Regions from separate parts of the Homo sapiens genome. Here region 2 is linked to region 1. The links are contacts of gene promoters, found by promoter capture Hi-C in blood cells and fetal thymus (Javierre and others, 2016). All regions are on one chromosome and are shown on one strand. The core of a region is centred on a gene start or on the middle of the fragment in contact, and the rest is flanking DNA. Distances in the headings are between cores, read along the strand shown.

Region 1 (6,230 bases), core at 3,679-6,178:
CCAGACGGGGCAGCCGGGCAGAGGGGCTCCCCACATCCCAGACGATGGGCGGCCAGGCAGAGATGCTCCCCAGTTCCCAGACGGGGTGGCGGCCGGGCAGAGGCTGTCATCTTAGCACTTTGGGAGGCCAAGGCAGGCGGCTGGAAGGTGGAGGTTGCAGCGAGCGGAGATCACGCCACTGCACTCCAGCTTGGGCAACACTGAGCACTGAGTGAGCGAGACTCCGTCTGCAATCCCAGCACCCCGGGAGGCCGAGGCGGGCAGACCACTCGAGGTCAGGAGCCGGAGACCAGCCTGGTCAACAGGGCAAAACCCCGTCTCCTCCAAAAATACAAAAACCAGTCAGGCGTGGTGGCGCGCACCGGCAATCCCAGGCACTTGGCAGGCCGAGGCAGGAGAACCACGGGAGCCTGGGGCAGGGAGGCTGCAGCGAGCCGAGACCACAGCAGCACAGTCCAGCCTCGGCAACAGAGGGAGACCAAAGGTGAGGGCGAGGGAGGAGGGAGGCAATGATAGTTTTAAATACAAATTTAAAAGGGCGTTTAATGCATATGTGGAATCACCAAAATGACACGATTTGTATTTCATAGCTTGTACATATTTATTTCATTCTTATAAGAACTGTGGAAAATTCACACAAAATTAAATCAATTATTTTTATTTCACTTCTTCATACATGCAAACTATATCAACACTCTCTACCTTCAGCTTATTGCAAAGGATAACCTGAAAAGAAAAGGAACTATGATTGCCATATCTTTCCCTTTCCTTCCGTGTCTTTGAGTGTAAGTGGTTGACATTTACAGGGAAAGAACACAAGTAAAAAACTATGTGGGCTGGGCACGGCGGCTCACGCCTGTAATCCCAGCACTTTGGGAACAGAGGCGGGCAGATCACGAGGTCAGGAGATCAAGACCATCCTGGCCAATATGGTGAAACTCCGTCTCTACTAAAATACAAAAAAATTAGCCGGGCATGGTGGCGGGTGCCTGTAGTCCCAGCTATTCGTGAGGCTGAGGCAGGGGAATCGCTTGAACCCAGGAGGCGGAGGTTGCAGTGAGCCGAGATCGCGCCACTGCACTCCAGACGGGCAATAGAGCAACACTCTATCTCAAAAAAAAAAAAAAAAAAAAAAAAAAGGATGTGACAGCCTGTAATCCCAGAGCTTTGTGAGGCCAAGGCTGGAGGATTGCTTGAGGCCAGGAGCTCAAGACCAGCCTGGGAAACACAGCAAGACCCTGTCTCATAAAATTTAAGAAATTAGGTCCGGGCACGGTGACTCACGTCTGTAATCCCAGCACTTGGGAGGCTGAGGTGGACGGATAACCTGAGGCCAGGAGCTTGAGACCAGCCTGGCCAACATGGTGAAACCCAGTCTCTACAAAAAATACAAAAAAGTTAGCCGGGAGTGGTGGCGGATGCCTATAATCCCAGGTACTTGGGAGGCTGAGGCAGGAGAATTGCTTGAACCCGGGAGGCGGAGGTTGCAGTGAGCTGAGACCTGCGCCATTGCACTCTAGTTTGGACAAGAGGGAAACTCCATCTCGGAAAAAAAAAATTAGTTGGGCATGGTGGCATGCATTTGTAGTCTTAGCTACTAAGGATGCTAAGATGGGGTGAGCCCTTAAGCCCAGGAGTTTGCAGAGAGCTATGATTGCACCACTGCCCTCCAACCTGGGCAACAGAACAAGACCCTATTAAGAAAAAAAAAAGGATGTGAAAAGATTCCTTGGTCATTCATGTTTCTTAAAACGTCATTGCTTTCCTTCTGCATTCAAAGTAAGTTCTCCTCGGTAAGGAAAGCTAGGCCTCTTGGGGCTGTCTGTGCCTTCTCTTCTCTTCCCTTTACTAAGTCACAAGTGTGACATGCTTATCTTTTACTAGCTTTGAGTCTAGCTTAACTCCCAAACATTGCAGGTCTAACAGAATTCTGAGCTCATGGGGCATGCTAAATGCTTAAATGCAAATGATTGGCAGGAAACAGTGGACATCCACATTGTGCATACCTCTTCTATTCATGTTCATGTTCCATTGTACTTTCAGACTTCACTTACAAAACACATGTTCAAAGGCAAAATTACTAAGTATTTCAAAATGGTGACAGCTGAGCATTAAACCAAGTGCAGAGTCCTTCGGAGTCCAGGGCTCTGTGCAATAGCATAGGTTGCACACCTTTTAAGTCAGCTCTTATTTGAGTTCTAGATAATCCAGTTTTGCCAACACTTGATATTATCAATCTCTTAATTTTAATCATTTGGTGGGTGCTTAGAGATATCTAATTTTGGCATTTATTTACATTTCTCTGATCAACTTTTCATATATTAGCCACTTGGCTGTGTGTGTGTGTGTGTGTTAGGTTCCTGTTTCAGTCTTTTTTCCTTCTTTTTTTTTGTTTTTGAGGTGGAGTTTCGCTCTTGTTGCCCAAGCCAGAGTGCAATGGCGCGATCTTGGTTCACCACAACCTCCACCTCCCAGGCTCAAGCAATTCTCCTGCCTCAGCCTCCCGAGTAGCTGGGATTACAGGCATGTACCACCATGCCTGGCTAATTTTGTATTTTTAGTAGAGACGGGATTTCTCCACGTTGAGGCTGGTCTCGAACTCCTGACCTCAGGTGATCCACCCGCCTCAGCTTCCCAAAGTGCTGGGATTACAGGCATGAGCCACTGCGCCCGCCTCCAGTCTTTTGTCTATTTTTCTATTGACTGTCTTTTTTTGGTCTGGATTTGTAACAATTGTTTTTATATTCTGAAAAGGAGCCTTAGGTAGGTTATATGTATAGCAGATATCTTCCCCTACTCTATGGCTTCCTTTTCACTCTCTTATGGTATATTTTGATTACTAGAAATTCCTAATTTTAATATAATTTAATTTGGCAATCTTTTCATTTGAAGTTAAGTGCTATTTTGTATCTGGTTTCAGAAATCTTTGCCTTCCTCCAAATCATATTCTCCTGTATCATTTTCTTTAAGTTTTATTGTTTTTGCCTTTCACATTTATATCCACAATCTATCTGGAATTTATTTTTTTTTGTAACTGGTAAGAGGTAAAGGATCAAACTTTGCTGATGCTGTTTTTAGTCAATACAAAGGTGGGTTCCCAATTTAGCTCCAGTTTGTCCTCTATAATAAATTCCATTATTACGGCGGGGCAGAGAAAGAGGGGATGGCTTCGGGTTAGGATGGGAGAGAAAACGGATTACATTCCCAGTGTCATCTGAAGTAAAACTTTTCTCAGATTTTTCTCAGCAAGCTTTTTAAGTCCTCTCACCTGGAGAGTGACTAAAGAGATAGAGGCCATATCCCATTCACCTATCCATTCAACAAACTAAACTAAAACGAGGGGCCGGACACAGTGGCTAACGCCTGTGATCTCAGCACTTTGGGAGGTCGAGGTAGGGGGATCACTTGAGCCCAAGTTCGAGACCAGCATGGGCAACATGGCGAAATTCCGTCACTACAAAAAATACAAAAAATTACCCGGGGGTGGTCACCTGACCTCAGGAGGTCAAGGCTGCTGTGAGCCGAGATAGAGCCACCGCACTCCAGCCTGGGTGACAGACTGAGACTCTATCTCAAAACAAACCAACAAAAACAAATTAAAATGATATGCTTGTAAAATGTTTGTAAAATCATAAAAGATAAAGTGTTTTTTTGTTTTGTTTTGTTTTTCTTGTCATTGTGGAAGTGACGTTAGTTCTTTTGGCAAAGGCTTCTGAGAACATCAAGTTTAAGGATTTAGTTTAGAATAGACTGTTCCACAACTGTTCTGAATTCCACTTGCTAAGTGTTCGGGTGTTGTGGTTAAGGTGAGGACTGGGCAATGTGGGTAGATCAGAGTAAACTCATCAAAACAATTCCAAGGGACCCTAGGATGACACTACTCTGGGTATGTCTACACCTCTTTATATTGGAATGACAACAATATCATGAATATTCACTCTAATCCATTGTATTTGCCACCATCATCTCTCTCTTACAGTAATACAACTTTATCCCCTTTTCTCTGCCTTTGGTAATGGCCCTCTTCAATGTATTCTACTTCTGGCCTAGGATGATCTGGCCTTTGTTTATCTATCCAGCCTCATTCTTTGCCACCTGTCCCCTACACCAGCTGAGCTTCACCGTCTCCCTCTTTGCAGACGTTGGTCCCTTGAGGCCCAGCCTACATCACTGCTCTTTCTCTGGTTGGCTCCTACTTGCCTTTCAGGATTAAATATTACTTCATTCAGAAAGCCTGGTTTATAGAAAGTGCTCAATAAATGTAGGTATTATTATTATTTTAAAATAATAGAAGTAAAAATGCATCCTCGGTGTGATTATTGAAAAAGTGGATGAATGAGATGGGTATTTGTTGAGTGGATGGGTGACTGGGACATGGGTTCTATCACTTTAGCAACTCTCCAAGGTGAAAGGACTTAAAGTGTGTTCAGGCTGGGCGCGGTGGCTCACGCCTGTAATCTCAGCACTTTGGGAGGCCGAGGCGGGCGGATCACGAGGTCAGCAGATCGAGACCATCCTGGCTAACATGGTGAAACCTCGTCTCTGCTAAAAATATAAAAAAATTAGCCTGGCGTGGTGGCAGGCGCCTGTAATCTCAGCTATTCGGGAGGCTGAGGCAGGAGAACCGCTTGAACCCGGGAGGCGGAGGTTGCGGTGAGCCGAGATCGTGCCATTGCACTCCAGCCTGGGCAACAAGAGTGAAACTCCATCTCAAAAAAAAAAAAAAAAGTGTGTTGAGAAAAGTTTCACTTCAGATGACGCCGGGAATGTAAACCGTTTTCTCTTCCATTCTAACTCGGAGCCATCCCCGCTTTCTCCGCCCAGCTGGAATTTTTGAAGCGAGAAAATCGACTCGCTCGGTGTTCGCCCGCCGACGCCGCACGGCTTGCTGGGGCTGGGCTCTTCCTCGCGGAAGTGGGGAGGAGGCGGTTGCGGTTAGTGGACCGGGACCGGTAGGGGTGCTGTTGCCATCATGGCTGACCCCGACCCCCGGTACCCTCGCTCCTCGATCGAGGACGACTTCAACTATGGCAGCAGCGTGGCCTCCGCCACCGTGCACATCCGAATGGGTACGTTGTCCCCTCTCCAGTGCCTCCCAGCCGCTTGTCTGCACTGCTCGGCCTCTAGAAGCCGACTTCCGGCTTCCGAGGGAGAGCGGCCATCTCCTGGGACTCACAGGGAGTGCTCACTGAGCTCCCGGCCCTCCTTCTCCGGGTACCAGAGGACTGGCGCCCTCCTCAGGGAGTCGGGGAGGCGCTTCCTCCCCTCCTAGCGGGTGTGGGAGGGCGCCAGGCCCAGAAGGCTTGCGGCTGTCCTGTGTGCGCCCCGGCTCCCCAGCGGGCGCCGCGGTGTAGGAAGGGACAGATGGAAACCGCCGCAGCCTGAATTTGGCATCTTGAAGTGAAAAGAAACGTCGTGGAAATGAGTCGGTTGATCACTGTGACTGACGTACACACGAGTGGAATCCACGGCCTGATGTTTTTGTTCTGTGGGGTTTCGCGTTACAGGCTTATATTTACCGTCCTGTGCTAGGCTGGAAGCTCCCTGACGGCACTATTTCCTCTCCGCAGGGCCCAGAATGCAACAGGTCTTTGAGGATTATTGAGGAAGTTGCTCAACACAGAAGCTTCCTAAGTCAGTCTAAATTGTGTTTTAAGTTATTACGTAGTAGCCAATGGGCAGAAATTTTTGAATTTAAAATGCTCAGCTTCATCTACGTGGAAGCCATTGCCTGCTCTAGTTTGGTCATTTGATCGCCGAAACAGCCCCAGACTTTCAGCCTGTTTAGGCAGCTGGAACTTGTTCTGGAAAAGGAAAGATGAAGATAGTTCTGATGTGCTAAGAATCTTAGTGCCTAGAACTTGTTCTGGAAAAGGAAAGATGAAGATAGTTCTGATGCACCAAGAATCTTGGTGCCTAGCATTTATATTTTTGGAATTGAATTTTGAAATTATTTTGGCCAGTGAACTCAGCTTTTTTTTAAAAAAAATTAATTGTGGTAAAATACAGGTAACATAAAATTTACCGTCTTAACTATTTTTAAGTGTATAGTTCAGTAGTGTTAAGTTATTCACATGGTTGTGCACTGTTAAAAGAAAAACTTTAGACACATTAAATCTAACGGAGTTTGAGCACAGAATGATTTGCGAATTGGGCAGGTCCCGGAACCAGAATAAGGTTCAGAGTGATGAGTCCTGCCGCTTGGTGGGAGAAAATTTATGGAGAGAGAA
Region 2 (6,976 bases), core at 2,174-4,673, about 24 Mb after region 1:
CCACATCAGATGATGACTCTGGCTGTGCATTGGAGGAGTACGCCTGGGTCCCCCCGGGCCTGAGACCAGAGCAGGTAGGAACTTCATCATCCTATATTTACTCTTTGTTTTTCAGTGTGAGTTCAGACTTTAGAACATTATTTTGTAAATGGATAGAACATCACTGAGATGCTGGAATACCACCCTCCTCAGTCCTTATTCTTCTTTGTATGGCTTTGAAGTTTTACTTTTGAAGGTCATATTTAGTTTCTCAATGGAAGTTTCCAATCTCGTCGTACCCATGGTTCCAGAAGCCTCATAAGGATCCCATTTTTGCTCTAATGAATGAAATCCAGAGTACTACATATGCATTGGTTATGTGTATTTCGGATGAATCCCTCTTGAGAGTGAGAGGAATTTCCCTTTTAAAAAACTTCTGTGACAACAAAAAGGCAATAAAAGAAAAGAGAAAAGTTTCCATGCCAGTTCTCAGCAATGCTTTTGCTTTGGAAGCGAGATAGTGAGCTATCAGAAACCCTCTGAAGTGTTACTGCTTAGACGTTTGACCTTTGATAACTTTGCATATAAAAGAGCCTGTCACTTACACCACAGGGATTGGAAAAAAAATTAAAGAGTTAATTTTATGCTTTGTTTGTATTGTTATTTTAGGGAAGATGAGAACATTCCATATGCCTATTTAATTTTCCCAATATCTTTACAATGATTAACTTGTTGAAAATCACTGGCGATATTATTAAAAGAGCAGAGGCATCATTTGAAAATAAAGTTGACAGTGGGGTATGTGGTTGCTTTGCTTCTGATGTTAGGGTTCTGTTTCCTGTAGGGTGGGACGTTTTATGAGAATAGGGTATCCTTATTTATCCATGGCATAGCACAGTACCTGGCACGCATGTAGCTGATATTCAGTAAGTGTTTATAACTGTAAAAAGCTTCTAGAGCTGATAGAATGGGGAGAGGGTGGAGTGCTGGTGAAGCAGTTAGAAAAGCAATATTTTGACAAACTACTTAGAGAGAATCCCTTCTTACAACTTAGAGTGGGTAGGTTTTGTGTGGTACTAAGGTATTGAAGTAGACAGGCCCTAAATTCCTGTCTCCTGTCTTTTTTTTCTTTTATTCCTTCTCAGCTCTGCAGTATCCTTTGCAGTACTCATTAAGGGATGTTCCTTTAAAGACATCAGAAAAACAAACAAGCAGAAATTAAGTTTTCCTTTCAGAGTGAGCAAAGTACAGCTCAATGTGGCTTCTCTCCAGTTTGCCTGGGGAGGCTGACTTCAGGTATTCAGAAAATAGCACTCATGGAAGCAAAGAAAGCTGATGTTTGAGAGAACCTGATAAAGAAGAGTTTACAACATTTAGCAAAACAGCCTTTGTCTTTGTGTTGTGTAAAATTCAGAGAGCAAATTAAATGTGTTCGTGTAGTGGCTGGATTTTGGACCATTTCACACAGTCTGTGTAGTAATTTGCAGGATTCACCCAGGACTCTCTCTCTTGCTGATCTCTTGTCTGACCCCTTGGAAGACTGGCTGAGGAGGAGTAGTCTTTTTTTTTTTTTTGAGACGGATTCTTGCTCTGTCACTCAGGCTGGAGTGCAGTGGCGCGATCTTGGGTGACTGCAACCTCTGCCTCCCAGGTTCAAGCGATTCTCCTGCCTCAGCCTCCCGAGTAGCTAGGATTACAGGCGTGCATCACCACGCCCAGCTAATTTTTGTAGTTTTAGTAGAGACAGGGTTTCACCGTGTTGGTCAGGCTGGTCTCGAACTCCTGACCTCAGGTGATCCACCAGCCTCAGCCTCCCAGAGTGCTGGGATTACAGGCGTGAGCCACACCACCGGGAAGAGTGGTCTTAAATGTGCATATTTTATGGTGCATAATTTATGATGTCCCTAATTGTCACTACAAATTACATTCCTGAAGAGCAATTTAGCAGCTGGGTGCTAGTTATCTGAAGGTTTGCAGTTCTGCTGAGTTGGCTCAGCTGGTCTTCTCATTAGCTACAAGAGGCCAAACCCTGTACCTAGGGAAAGGTAACTTTTAAAGATTAAGTGAGCTGAGATGCTCAGTTCTGTATGTTGATGCCATTCTCACTGTCTCTTTTGCAGATCCAGCTCTATTTTGCTTGCTTACCAGAGGAAAAAGTTCCTTACGTTAACAGCCCCGGAGAGAAGCATCGGATTAAACAGCTTTTGTACCAGTTACCACCACATGATAATGAGGTAAAATAGCAGGAAGAAGGCTAATTAGAAAAAAGAAGAAAAAATGCATGAGAAGCATTGAGATGCTGCTCATAAACCCCAACTCCTCACTGGCGAGGGCTCCCTTTTGCCTTTCTTTAGTTAAAATTTGGCCAGAGAATACAGCTTTCCATTCTTTGAGAGAAAGAGAGAAAAGAGTATCAGTGTAATAAACTTAACACAAGTTGGTTTTTATAGTGTTTGCAGCCACCCACCAATGATCAGGAACCTACAAATTCCTGAGATTTCCCAGCCCCTGCATCCAGAGTGAATGCTTTATGGTCATTCAGGCCTGCAGTTGAGTTGAGTGCATGTAGAATGGAGAGTAAAAGTGGCAATTAACAAGTTTAAACCTTTTGTGGAAAGGTTAATGTCCTATATATATTTTTTAATTCTGTGTTGATAAGGGTTTTCAATTAAACATTTCTTATTTAAAAAAAAAGTATTCCTTCACATTGCATTTCCCTTTTTCTAGAGAGGCTGTAAAATTCAGATATGGTGTCATTTTAAAATCGTGGGGGTGTGACACAGGCGAGCTAAACTTACTGTTTCACTTCCTGAAACCCTAACTCTGGAAGTAGAGAACTGGTGAGAAAGACTGTGCACTCAGTGTGGTGTTTCTGTTTTGCTTTCTGTGAAGGTACGGTATTGCCAGTCTTTGAGTGAAGAGGAGAAAAAAGAGTTGCAGGTGTTCAGTGCTCAGCGGAAGAAAGAAGCACTGGGAAGAGGAACAATTAAGCTTCTGTCCAGAGCAGTCATGCATGCTGTGTGTGAGCAGGTGAGCAGCCCCTTCTCTGATGCGTAGCTTGTGGCAGTGATGTGGATGGGGTGGACAGTCGGGGGTAGGTGACTGGACTAGCAGAGGTGTGGGTCCTGAAAGCCTCCAGAAAATGAGAGAAAGACAGCCTAGCTTTTTATTAAATAGCAAATCATGTTTCATATTTGTAACTAGCTACACTGCTGTGTATGACAGCAGGAGTCAGTCACCCTTATGCAAACATTGGGTGAAATCCTGCCTTTGGTAGGATCCTGGCATGGAGGTAGGTGCTAGGATACATCTCGTATTCAAAAGATGCAGAAACATAATGAAGACATTCAGATCTTTGCTGGCAGTTCTCAGAGTAGGAAATGTATCCAGCAGGAGGCTGGCACAGGAAAACCACTATTTGTGTGAATCAGATTACACCGTCCTTAGAAATAGTTGTAGTATGTCTGAGACACGTGCCTTACAGTGGAGAATCACCAGTAATCCAGCATTAAAGAGCTATTTAATCACTAAAAGAGGTAGCAAAAATAAATACATTCCTGACAAATTCGAGATTTATCCTAAAGTAGGAAAGCCTGAGAATCCTGTCTTTAAAAAATGATCCTTTTACATTCAAACCCATTTGTTTGTAGTGTGGTTTGAAGATAAATGGAGGTGAAGTTGCAGTGTTCGCCTCCCGTGCGGGCCCTGGTGTGTGCTGGCACCCATCCTGTTTTGTCTGTTTCACGTGTAATGAGCTGCTGGTCGACCTCATCTATTTTTATCAGGATGGAAAAATTCACTGTGGCAGGCACCATGCAGAACTGCTCAAACCACGGTGCTCAGCATGTGACGAGGTAAAAAAAAGTTCATCCTTTCACACTGGGAAAAATAAGCTTAGATTAAGCCAATATTCCACTGTTTACATCAAGCAAAATACTAAAATTTCCTGGATTTTGTTCTGTGTGCATGTTTTAAACATAATCCTGTACATTCATACAATGAAATGATCTATATTTGGTTGCTGCAAAAGTAATTGCGGTTTTTTGCCATAATGGTCAAAACCGCAATTAATTTTTCACCTTCCTGATAGAAAGGGAAGCAGATGTCTTTGTACTTTGATAAGTATTATGTCTTCAGTGGGTTGTGAGAAAATACAAGCTGCAGAAGAGCATGTAGTAGATGGTCTCATTTTTGTTAAGAATTTAAAAAACAATATGATATATGTATTTGTTTATGCTCAGAAAAGGTATGGAAAGACAAATACCAAATTAATAGTAGTTACCCTCGGGGAAGGTGGGAATGGATGATGGCTTGAAAGGAAAAATTTTTTCCCTTTAGCTTTTTATTTTAAAATAATTTTAGATTTACAGAAGAGTTGCAAAGCTATTACAGAGAGATCCTGCATGCCCTTCTCCCAGCTTCCCCTGACACTAACGTCTTACATAACCATAATATATGTATCAAAACTAAGAAATTATCAGCAGTGTAATACCATTAACTAAACCATAGTCTTTGTTTAGATTTTCCCAGTGTTTTAACAGATGCTCCTTTTCTTATCCAAGATCAATCCAGGGTGCTTCATTGCATTTACTCGTTGTATCTTCTTAGTCTCCTTCAATCTATGACAATAAACTTTGTTTTTATTTTTATACATTCATTTACTTTATACATTTTTTTCAACAATGTTCTATTTGAACATATTTTTGTTTTTGTTTTGTTTTGATTTATTTTTTTGGGATGGAGTTGCTCTCTGTTGCCCAGGCTGGAGTGCCGTGGTGCAATCTTGGCTCACTGCAACCTCCGCCCCGCGTGTTCAAGTGATTCTTGCACCTCAGCCCCCCGAGTAGCTGGGATTGCAGGTGCCCACCACCACGCCCAGCTAATTTTTTTTTTTGTATTTTTAGTAGAGGCGGGCTTCACCATGTTGGCCAGGCTGGTCTCGAATTCCTGACCCCAAGAGATTCACCTCCCTCAGCCTCCCAAAATGCTGGGAATACCAGGGTGAGCCACCATGCTCCGCTGAACATATTTTGGAAACCAAAAATATAAAAAAAATGAAAGAACCTGCCGGGCTCGGTGGCTCACGCCTGTAATCCCAGCACTTTGGGAGGCCGAGATGGGCAGATCACGAGGTCAAGAGACAGAGACCATCCTGGCAAACATGGTGAAACCCCGTCTCTACTGAAAATACAAAAATTAGCTGGGCATGGTGGCATGCACCTTTAGTCCCAGCTACTCAGGAGGCTGAGGCAGGAGAATTGCTTGAACCCCAGGAGGCGGAGGTTGCAGTGAGCCGAGGTCACGCCATTGCACTCCAGCGTGGTGACAGAGCGAGACTCTGTCTCAAAAAAATAAAAAATAAAAATAAAAATAAAAAAAGAACCAGACTAGACCCCATGGTGAGACCCCGTCTCTGTCCCAAAATGTTTTTCAAATTAGCTGGGCATGGTGGTTGTGCCCTTGTGGTCCCAGCTACTCAGAAGGCAGAGGTGGGAGGATCGCTCAAGCCCAGGAGTTTGAGGCTGCAGTGAGCTATGATTGTGCCACTGTGCTCCAGCCTGGGCTACAAGTGAGACCCTGTCTCAAAAAAATAAAGAGTCCTTAATCTAGAGATGGCCACCAAGTCAAATAAAGCATTATCAACACAAATGCTGTTCACTCAATTCCAGCATCTGTGTAGCTATAACTGTGTTGAGTCCACAGACATTTTTATGAGTTTTCTTTCTACTAAAACACCAAATTATTTCACTAAATTATTTCCGTGTTAATGTGTTCTTTGCCAGATTATGCCAAGAAAATGTTATTGGGGAGCAAAAATATGACCAAATGAATTACCTCCGGTGTAGAATTCTGTTTTTTTAAAGTCAAAGCAAGCATTTATTATTTAGTTTGTTTTCTCAGCACTGTCAATTTATGCTCTAGTTTGTAGCTAAATCAAGTGTTAGATTTAAGCTTGTGACTCTAAGAAACAAGGTTAGCTATCTGATTTTTTTAAGAGCCAGTGTCTGTCCATTGCCCGGAAAACATGCAGTTACTTGGCCTTTAAAATAGTTCCTAATGATTTTCTTTCATTCTCTGGTTTCACATTTCTTTTTGAAGATAATTTTTGCTGATGAGTGCACAGAAGCTGAGGGTCGCCATTGGCACATGAAACACTTCTGCTGCCTTGAGTGTGAAACGGTCCTGGGAGGACAGAGGTATATCATGAAGGACGGCCGCCCCTTCTGCTGTGGCTGTTTTGAGTCTCTCTATGCGGAGTACTGTGAAACCTGTGGGGAACATATTGGTAAGTCCACAGCCAGCCCGTCTGCCCTGTCACCTAGCCATTAGTCTGTCTTGGATTATCCAGTCTTATTTTTTCTTTTTCTGTTTTTTAAAGTTGAGATATAATTTACATACAATGAAATGTACAGATCTTAAATGTTCCAGCTGATGAGCTTTGACAAATGAACAGAGAGTTGATTCTTGTTACTTGCAGTAGTTGTGTTCTGTGACGTTACTGCAAACACTGGATTAGTGAACACTGAACCATTGCTCATGGGGGAATACAGGGTTAGGTTCCTGTGAGCCTCTGGTCACAGCAGTTTCATCAACCCATCAATACATAACCTTGTTTCACGTGTGTTTTTGCTTAAAGCCACTGCCTTATTGAATGTACATTGTTGATGCATTAATATTGAACTCACAGCCAGTGGTACCGTACTCAAGATTAGGAGCTTACGTAATACATGTCTTTTCTCTGTAAGGCACATCACAGCCTTCTTGCCCTTAGCAACATGACAGCATTTCAGCATTATCAGCATTACACTTGGGGGCCATTTTAAACAGTAAACTCACCAACAAAGAGCACAAAAATGCAGAAAACGCGGCAGTAGATAGACCAGAAATAGGACACTTGTCTACAGTATGAGAGCTGAAACAAAAAGCTGAGCATCTCCTGGATCAGTGCATGTTGGTTCAGTTCGTATTTTTACCACTCTGCACATCTGCGAATGAC

What was found. The method cuts DNA at HindIII sites, captures the fragments that hold promoters and counts their contacts. A CHiCAGO score of 5 or more calls a contact.
Region 2: a contact is called between a fragment that was not itself captured here and the fragment with the promoter of TMBIM4 in region 1, in 1 of 17 cell types (total B cells). The highest score is 5.6, in total B cells.

Annotation. Positions count from the first base shown.
Region 1 is chr12:66,168,694-66,174,923 of GRCh38, reverse strand. TMBIM4 (transmembrane BAX inhibitor motif containing 4) reads left to right here and starts at 4,928. Exons shown (of 7, transcript NM_016056.4): 1 at 4,928-5,069. The coding sequence starts at 4,973. RefSeq lists silencers at 1-100, 1,748-1,948 and enhancers at 4,947-5,026, 4,670-5,194, 5,677-5,776. The HindIII fragment of the contact is 2,376 bases long and covers 3,253-5,628 here.
Region 2 is chr12:42,465,483-42,472,458 of GRCh38, reverse strand. PRICKLE1 (prickle planar cell polarity protein 1) reads left to right here. Exons shown (of 8, transcript NM_153026.3): 2 at 1-74; 3 at 2,100-2,213; 4 at 2,872-3,009; 5 at 3,630-3,833; 6 at 6,079-6,265. Among named protein-coding and RNA genes, the nearest start is that of PRICKLE1, 120 kb to the left of the region's middle. RefSeq lists enhancers at 2,796-2,845, 2,856-2,955, 6,495-6,976. The HindIII fragment of the contact is 902 bases long and covers 2,973-3,874 here.